Linked DNA regions of Homo sapiens: regions 1 and 3 are each linked to region 2. Evidence: promoter capture Hi-C in 16 types of primary human blood cells and fetal thymus (Javierre and others, 2016). All regions are on one chromosome and are shown on one strand. The core of a region is centred on a gene start or on the middle of the fragment in contact, and the rest is flanking DNA. Distances in the headings are between cores, read along the strand shown. Region 1 overlaps KIF5A (kinesin family member 5A). Region 2 holds the start of CYP27B1 (cytochrome P450 family 27 subfamily B member 1). Region 3 has its middle 21 kb from the start of GIHCG.

Region 1 (2,700 bases), core at 162-2,661, 190 kb after region 2:
TCGCACCCAGCCTATTATTATTTATTACACAAGTTACTCATGTTTACTGTGCAAAAATTAGAAAAGAATTTTAAAGAGAGACATAAGGTGAGTTTTTATAAAAAGCCTATGATTCTACTATTTACAGATCAAACCAACATTAACCTTCTGGTGTCCACCTTTCTAGACTTTTTTCTATGCCTACATATCCATGTATACATTTTTATGGGATCATACCATGCATATGGTTTTGTAACCTGTTTTTACACTGAATAGAACACGTAAACCTCCTTCCATACTGGTGAATACTCAACGGCAGTCTTTGCTGAGAGTGTCCTTTTGGTCCCGTCCCTACCCCATCATATTTTTCCCATGAGTCACCCTATCATGTCTGCATGTGTGTCCTGCCTCTGCAAGCGTGTCTGAGTTCACAGTTCTGAGCCTACAAGGCTGTAGTTTTACAGGTAAATCCATGCCACTCACGTCAGCTCCTGCAGCTTGGTGCTCTTCTCGTGTTCTTCGCTCTTCAGCTTCTCGTAGTCAGCCTGAAGCTTCTCTAGCTCTAACTGGAGCTTCTGATTTAGGCTACAGAGCATCAGAAGGTAATGGAGATGGGGGAGAAAGATGTTAATGAGGGGGAAGGGAAGGCCAGCTCTTCAAACTTCTTCCTTTTTGAACGAGTGAGTCCAGTTAGAATTGATGTGTCCACCTTCAGATACCAGAGGCAGACTCAGGCCACTGTTTCCATGACAGAGCCAGGAACCCTGACCTCTCTAATCCTGGGACCCTCAAGGATAGGGACTAGTCGTTATTCCATGTGTCTCCTGAGGTGGGGCTACGAAGTTGTGGCATTGTTGAGGGAATGACACATGGATGTTAAAGAATCAGACCCAGAGGGGACATGTGAGTCAATACAGCAAGGTGACAGGACCCGGGAGGGGCTGGAGTCGCCCTTGGGAACCCTTACTCTTTGAGCTCATCAATGGTCTTCTGCTTCTCGTTGATCTCGTCCCGGAGCCGGGCCAGCTGCCGGTGATGGGCCTCCCGGTGACTCTCCATCTGCAGCTCCAGAGCCTTCTGCAAACAACCCCACCCCAAGCTCAAAGGCCAGACTCCCAGCAACAAGCTCTGTGAGGGCCAGCACAGCTTTCACCACACCAGGCCCCAATTGTCCCTGACACCTTCCTTACTCACCTTCACTTCATCTGCATCCTGAGTGTCAGGCTCCTTGTCCTTCAGGGCCACTTCATGCACAGTTTCTAAGGGAAAGAGGGGAAGACAGCTGACATCAAACCTACCTCTTTCGGAAAGAACTTCACGTTGTGACCAGAACTCCAGGCAGGGCTGGGAATGGACCCACAGGGATGTTCTTCTGTGTTAGGACTGTCCAATTTGATATAGCAGGAACAGAGAACAAGGGTGTATGGTTAATGTAAAATGAGCTACATGCAAAACCTTGGCTAACATATGAGTTGGCATCCATGATTTCAAGCTAATGCTTTGAGTGAGTGATTATTGGGGTGATTTATTTTGATGTTTCTGACTTTTCTGCCCTGGACAGTGGGATGGAGGTATAAGAAGGCCTCACCCTGGGCCTGGAGCTTGGCCAGCTCATCGCTCAAGGAGTCATAGGACTCTTCCAGGTGCCGCTTCTTTAGCTCCACGCTCTGCATGTATTCCGTAAGCGAGCGGATCTTGGCCTCATGCTGGTGGGAGAAAGTTGGTGAGAGGAAGAAGATGGAGCAAAGGACACAAACCCAGGCCACACAGATCTCCAACTCCAGCTCTCCTCCCAGCCCTCCCTCCTGCTACACTTCCCATGAGGGTGCAGGGTTGGGGGCCATTCCTATGGGGCTCTTCCTTTAGCTCCCATGGCTCAGGGGGCAGTACCCGCCCTGAGCCTTTACTTTTTTGGCCCTGATCTGCACCCCTGCCACCCCAGCTTTTCTGTCCTTGATTTCACTTGACCCCAGAACTTTGACATAAAGGTGGGTGTTAGGAGTTTTAGCCATAACCCCAGAGTAGCCTTCTTTCTCCCATGGCATCTGAAGGTTCTCAAACTTAGGCACTCACCTGAGAGATGAGGAGCTGGCAGGATGAGAGCTCCCGCCCGGTCACTTCCATCTTGCGGTGACACTCCACCTGGAGGTTCTCCAGCTGCCGGCACCGCTTGACCACAGACTTGACTTCTGATTTGATTTTGCTGATGTAGAGTCGGGCCACAGTGAACTCCTCCTCGATGGCCCCACTGATCTCCACTGGCTAAGGTGATTAAAGGAGGAAGAGATGCTTCTTGGCTGCTGGGAAGCTTTATCTGTTCCCTCCCACCTTCTACCTACCCATACACACCCACATACGCAGGGACTCAAATGGGATGGGTATTTTCCAAACGACCTTTAGCAGCTCTCTATCAGCGGCATTTCACATTAAATTCCTCCGCCTGCATTTAAAAATCCAATTCTGGCTGGGCGCAGTAGCTCATGCCTTGTAATCTCAGCACTTTGGGAGGTCAAGGTGGGTGGATCACCTGAGGTCAGGAGTTCGAGACCAGCCTGACCAACATGGTGGTGAAACCCTGTCTCTACTAAAAATACAAAATTAGCCAAGCATCATGGCACATGCCTGTAATCCCAGCTACTCAAGAGGCTGAGGCAGGAAATTGCTTGAACCCAGGAGGCGGAGGTTGCAGTGAACCGAGATCACACCACTGGACTCCAGCCT
Region 2 (2,700 bases), core at 90-2,589:
TTCACATTGACCTTCAATTCCAGAACTTCAGAGCTAGCTGACTGGCACAGAGCCTGATAGAGTTGCAGTGGGGAATGAGGGAGTAAGGAGCAGAGAGGTAAACTGTGGGAGATTCTTTTATTTTAATTTTTTTTAGAGACAGGCCCTCTCTCTGTTGCCTAGGCTGGAGTGCAGTGGTACAATCATAACTCACTGCAGCCTTGACCTCCCGGGCTCATGTAATCCACCTCAGCCTCTCAAGGCACTACAGGCATACGCCACCATGCCTGGCTAATTTTTGTATTTTTTGTAGAGACAGTTCCACTATGTTGCCCAGGCTGGTCTCAGACTCCTGAGCTCAAGCAGTCTGCCCACCTTAGCCTCCCAAAGTGTTGGGATTACAGTCATGAGCTGCCGTGCCCAGCCTAATTTTTAAACTTCTTCTGTAGAGACAGTCTTGCTATGTTGCTCAAGCTTGTCTCAACCTCCTGGCCTCATGCCATCCTCCTGCCTCAGCCTCCCAAAGTGCTGGGATTATAGGCATGAGCCACCACAGGATTCTGAGGCTAAAAGTAGAAAGGAGCTGCTAACCAGAAAGCCCCCCAGAGGAGACCGAGTCAGCTGGGGAATTAGAACATCCACATCCATTTAGCTCCTCTAACACCCCACAGACAATCTCTGAACTTAACTAATGTACAAAAAGTTTCATTTCTGCTTCTCAAGCCCCAAATTCCCATGTCTGGAAGGAGGGGGCTTGTATACCCAAGAGACCCCCTTATCCTCAAGAAAGAAAGATGGAGGTTCTAGGAGCCATTTTAGCCCATTAACCCACCTGCCATCTGCCCAGTATATGTTAGGTACAGGAGGAGGGGGAGGTGTGGCTAGTGCAGGAAAATAATGCAGAGAAGATACAACCCACTAAGCCAAGAATGTGGGGACAGTTACAGCTGTGCCTCCCCTGCTTCCCTTCCTGGAGGAGCTGAAAGATGGGGAATTCCTGAGGATGGGCCTAAAGGGGCTGGGCTCACTGGTAGAAGTGGGAATATCAGAGACTGACTAGTGTAGCTTGGTCACCTAGTCCCTACTAAAAAGCCTTATAGCCTTTCCTAGGATGAGACTTTGAGGCTCCTAGACAAAGGCACTCTCCCAGGAGGAAAATCTTAGGCCCTCCCTCCCATGAGGGTCATTGCAACATGAGACCCAAGGGAGTTGTGAAGTCAGCCCCAGCCCCGCCTACTGTTCCTGGGTGCTAATCCCCAGCACAGACCACTCAGGAGGAGGGATTGGCTGAGGAGCTTGGAGAGGGGGCGTCATCACCTCACCCAAAGGTTAAATAGGGGTTGAGATATGATGCTCAGGAGAAGCGCTTTCTTTCGCGAGCACCCTGAACCAGACCATGACCCAGACCCTCAAGTACGCCTCCAGAGTGTTCCATCGCGTCCGCTGGGCGCCCGAGTTGGGCGCCTCCCTAGGCTACCGAGAGTACCACTCAGCACGCCGGAGCTTGGCAGACATCCCAGGCCCCTCTACGCCCAGCTTTCTGGCCGAACTTTTCTGCAAGGGGGGGCTGTCGAGGCTACACGAGCTGCAGGTAGGAAGGGACGCCTTTCCCGAGACAGAGTGCTGGGGAAACTGGTTTTGACAGCGTCAGAAAGGACTGACTAGTGCAGAGCAAATGTGGGACAGCCAGAGAGAACGGATGCCCATGAAATAAGGAAAAGGCGAGTTGAGGCTGGGGGCGGTGTGGCTACACTCGGGCAGAGCCCGTCCCGACTCTTAGCAGAGGGCGCTGCGAAAGCGCCTTCTCGCTGTCCTGAGGTGTGGAGATCCTGCAGATAAAGTACAAGTGCGCGGGAGGGGGAGGCCGGAGTGGGCAGTACCCTCCGCCTGCTTGCGGCTTAAAGCTACATGGGTTCCTTTTCATTCACTGAGGACTCGTCCTGAGATGGACAGTCCAGACATGGAACTTTTAGAGATTTCTCCTCGACCGAGATGATCAGAGAGGTCCTGAATGTCTGCCTTGCACAAAGTTCCGGTTTTGCCCATCACACTCAAACTTTCTAGGGATGGGAAATGAGAGAGGAGGAGTTTGCAGTATCAAAGGCATACACTAGTTGGGCACCCGAGAAAGAGCAGAAGCTCCCTATTCCCAAGCCCAGTCAACGCCCTTGGCGTGGGCACAGGTCAAGCTGAAAGTCCCCGCCCAGGTATCCAAGTGTCCGCTGTGTCCGCTCCCCCAGGTGCAGGGCGCCGCGCACTTCGGGCCGGTGTGGCTAGCCAGCTTTGGGACAGTGCGCACCGTGTACGTGGCTGCCCCTGCACTCGTCGAGGAGCTGCTGCGACAGGAGGGACCCCGGCCCGAGCGCTGCAGCTTCTCGCCCTGGACGGAGCACCGCCGCTGCCGCCAGCGGGCTTGCGGACTGCTCACTGCGTGAGTCTTCTCTGCCCCCAGAAGCCCAGACGCCCTGCAGCGGCCCTCTCCTGCTGCGGGTCCCGAAACTATCAATCTGGGGGCATGGTGGGAGGTCGGCTGTCCCACTCTACCATTGGGCATCTTGGGGTTCCCATCCCAGTCTGCTTCACCCACACTCAGGTTGAGCCCCAACCTCACTCCCCGCCTACCTCCTTATCCTTTGAGGCCCGAATCCTGGGAACTGGGGGAACCGGAGGAATTGGGCTAGGGTACAAGGATCTGGATGGAATGAATGTAAGGTTCTGTGA
Region 3 (2,700 bases), core at 181-2,680, 150 kb before region 2:
CACAGTGTTGTGTTTTTGGTTTGTTTTTTTGTGGAGGGAGTGGTTCTTTTTCTTTTGAGACAGGTTCTTGCTCTGTTGCCCAGGCTGGAGTGCAGTGGTGCAATTATAGCTCGCTGCAATGTCAACCTCCATGTCTCAAGCGATCCTCCCATCTCAGCCCCCGAAGTAGGTGGGACTACAGGTATAAGCTACCACACACCAGAATGATATAAAAAAAAAAATTGTAGAGACAGTGTCTTACTATGTTGCCCTGGCTGGTATCAAACTCCTGAGCTCAAGCAATCCGTATGCCTCAGCCTCCCAAAATGCTGGTTTATAGACGTGAGACACTGCACCCAGCCCACAGTGGGTTTTTTTGTTTGTTTGTTTGTTTCTTTCTTTCTTTCTTTCTTGAGACAGAGTCTCGCTCTGTCGCCCAGGCTGGAGTGCAGTGGCACGATCTCGGCTCACTGCAACCTCTGCCTGCCAGGTTCAAGCCATTCTCCTGCTTCAGCCTCCTGAGTAGCTGGGGTTACAGGCACCCACCACCACACCCAGCTAATTTTTGTATTTTTAGTAGAGACGGGGTTTCACCATGTTAGCCAGGCTGGTCTCGAACTCCCAACCTCTTGTGATCAGCCCACCTCAGCCTCCCAAATTGCTGGGATTACAGGTGTAAGCCACTGTGCCCGGCCACAGTGTTTTTTAAACTACTGGTAATACTCACTTTTAAAAAAATACAACTGTAATCATCATGTCTATCTATATATCCTAAAATTGATGCATTTTCCAAAAGAATTTTAGGTAAAGGTCTGTGGAATCATGAGCAGCTTGCATCCATGAGTTTATATTATGTGGATTTAGAACCATGTCGATTCTCTATTTGGAATTTTTCCTTCTTTTTTTTTTTTTTCAACTATACTTTGAAACAGTATGGGACCTAGAAGAAGGCAAGCACCCAGCCCCTATCATGTAGTCAGTCTGGCTGCCACCCCAGCAGTAGGATATAGTGAAAATATTATGCCCTGGGGATAACCACTCAAATAGATACCCACATACCCCTTATGCTTGTCAGTGTCTTGAGACTGGTATTGTGTTGTGTTTGTCTTTCTTGCAAAATGTGTCTGTTTTATTCACATATTTTCATCATGTAAGAAAAAATTTTCACTGTTTTGAAACTCTGACACCAAGGAACAGGGAAAAAGCTAAACCTATGGATGTGAAACTAAACATTATCAAGAACTATGTGCCAGGAGAAGACAGCTAACATCAAAGGTTGCTTGGAACTGACTGAATGCACATTGCAAATCTCAAGAAGCTCAAAGCTGTTGACTGACTAGAGTGGGCACACGCCTTTAACCCTCACTTTGTTCTTACCATCCTCAGAATCCCACGCAGGAAAAGGCCCATCTGTCAATGAGCAATATTGTAGAACCAGCCAGGAGCCACAACTCCTCTTTAAGGGACTCAAGCACCTCACTCATGTCTTCTTCCTCAAAGTCCACCTGCCTGGCTAGCCTTCAAGCCATCGACCTGTGGAGGGTGGAGGAAACCACCCCCACTAACTCCAACCCTGCATCCAACAGCTTTCCCTGCTTATGCCACACCTCAACTTCCTTCCCTTGCTCTTTCTTTCTTACCCTGCACTCCTCCTACCCTTGGCCACTTCACCAATTACCCACTGGTACTTCAACAAGCCCATCTGGGTCCTCTCCTTCCCCAGCCTGATGGAGGCTGCATAGTTATCCTGGAAACAGCACAGGCTTTGGATAAAAACAATACGTTTGACTTTTGGCTCTGCTTTGATGATCTTTATGAGCTTGGGCATGTTATATAGCCCCTCTAAGTCTGTGTCTTCATCTGTTAAATAGAGATAATAAGATTTACCTTGCAGGAATGAAATGATGTATTTTGCAGCAACTTGGATGGAGCTGGAGGTCATTATTCTAAGTGAAGTAACTCAGGAATGGAAAACCAAATATCATAGGTTCTCATAAGTGGGAGCTAGGCTGTGAGGACGCAAAGGCATAAGAAAATTCGTGGGAAGACTTTGGGGACTTGTGGGGAGAAGGTTGGGAGGGGTGAGAGATAAAAGACTATACATTGGGTATGGTGTACACTGCTCAAGTGATGGGTACACTAAAATCTCAGATATCACCACTAAAGAACTTACCCATATAACCAAAAGCCATCTGTACCCCAAAAAAAATTGAAATGAAAATAAAAATTTTTTAAAAGATCTACCTTGCAGAGTTGTTGCAGGATTAATAAAGATGGTTTTAGTGTCTGACATATTAGTAGTGAAATAGGAGAGTTCCCTGACCCCCCTTGCAGGACATGTGACAGGGGTGTGGCTCATCTGTTAGGTCGCTGCCACTGATCAAACCCCTTACAGGATGGGGAGCACACAGATGGACATGTGAAGGAGCCAGGGTGCTGGGCTCCGGCCCCATGGCAGCATCCAGGGTTGGGAGCCTGTGACTCTTGGAACCCAACAGGCATGTGTTACAGTGTGCGCTTTTAGCCTTGCTAGTGTTAACCAGCTCAGTGGACCCTCTGCCTTTTTGCAAGGGCAGAGGGCCAGTGTGGCAGCTTTCTGCATCCTGAGCTCTTGTCCAGTGTCCCGGAAGAATCAGGTCACACATGGACTTGAAGGATGAATGCAGGGGTTTTATTGAATGGTGGAGATGGCGCTCAGAGGCATGGATGGGGAACTGAAAG

Evidence for each region. The method cuts DNA at HindIII sites, captures the fragments that hold promoters and counts their contacts. A CHiCAGO score of 5 or more calls a contact.
Region 1: a contact is called between a fragment that was not itself captured here and the fragment with the promoter of CYP27B1 in region 2, in 9 of 17 cell types (naive B cells, naive CD4 T cells, M2 macrophages and 6 more). The highest score is 7.6, in naive B cells.
Region 3: a contact is called between a fragment that was not itself captured here and the fragment with the promoter of CYP27B1 in region 2, in 13 of 17 cell types (naive CD8 T cells, total CD8 T cells, naive CD4 T cells and 10 more). The highest score is 16.6, in naive CD8 T cells.

What each region holds. Positions count from the first base shown.
Region 1 is chr12:57,574,625-57,577,324 of GRCh38, reverse strand. It overlaps KIF5A (kinesin family member 5A), which reads right to left. Exons shown (of 29, transcript NM_004984.4): 16 at 2,053-2,241; 17 at 1,568-1,685; 18 at 1,174-1,238; 19 at 947-1,056; 20 at 463-564. Among named protein-coding and RNA genes, the nearest start is that of PIP4K2C, 15 kb to the left of the region's middle. The HindIII fragment of the contact is 1,757 bases long and covers 533-2,289 here.
Region 2 is chr12:57,765,717-57,768,416 of GRCh38, reverse strand. CYP27B1 (cytochrome P450 family 27 subfamily B member 1) reads left to right here and starts at 1,339. Exons shown (of 9, transcript NM_000785.4): 1 at 1,339-1,570; 2 at 2,220-2,410. The coding sequence starts at 1,376. The HindIII fragment of the contact is 11,205 bases long and covers 456-2,700 here.
Region 3 is chr12:57,913,661-57,916,360 of GRCh38, reverse strand. No RefSeq gene overlaps it. Among named protein-coding and RNA genes, the nearest start is that of GIHCG, 21 kb to the left of the region's middle. The HindIII fragment of the contact is 9,190 bases long and covers 1-2,700 here.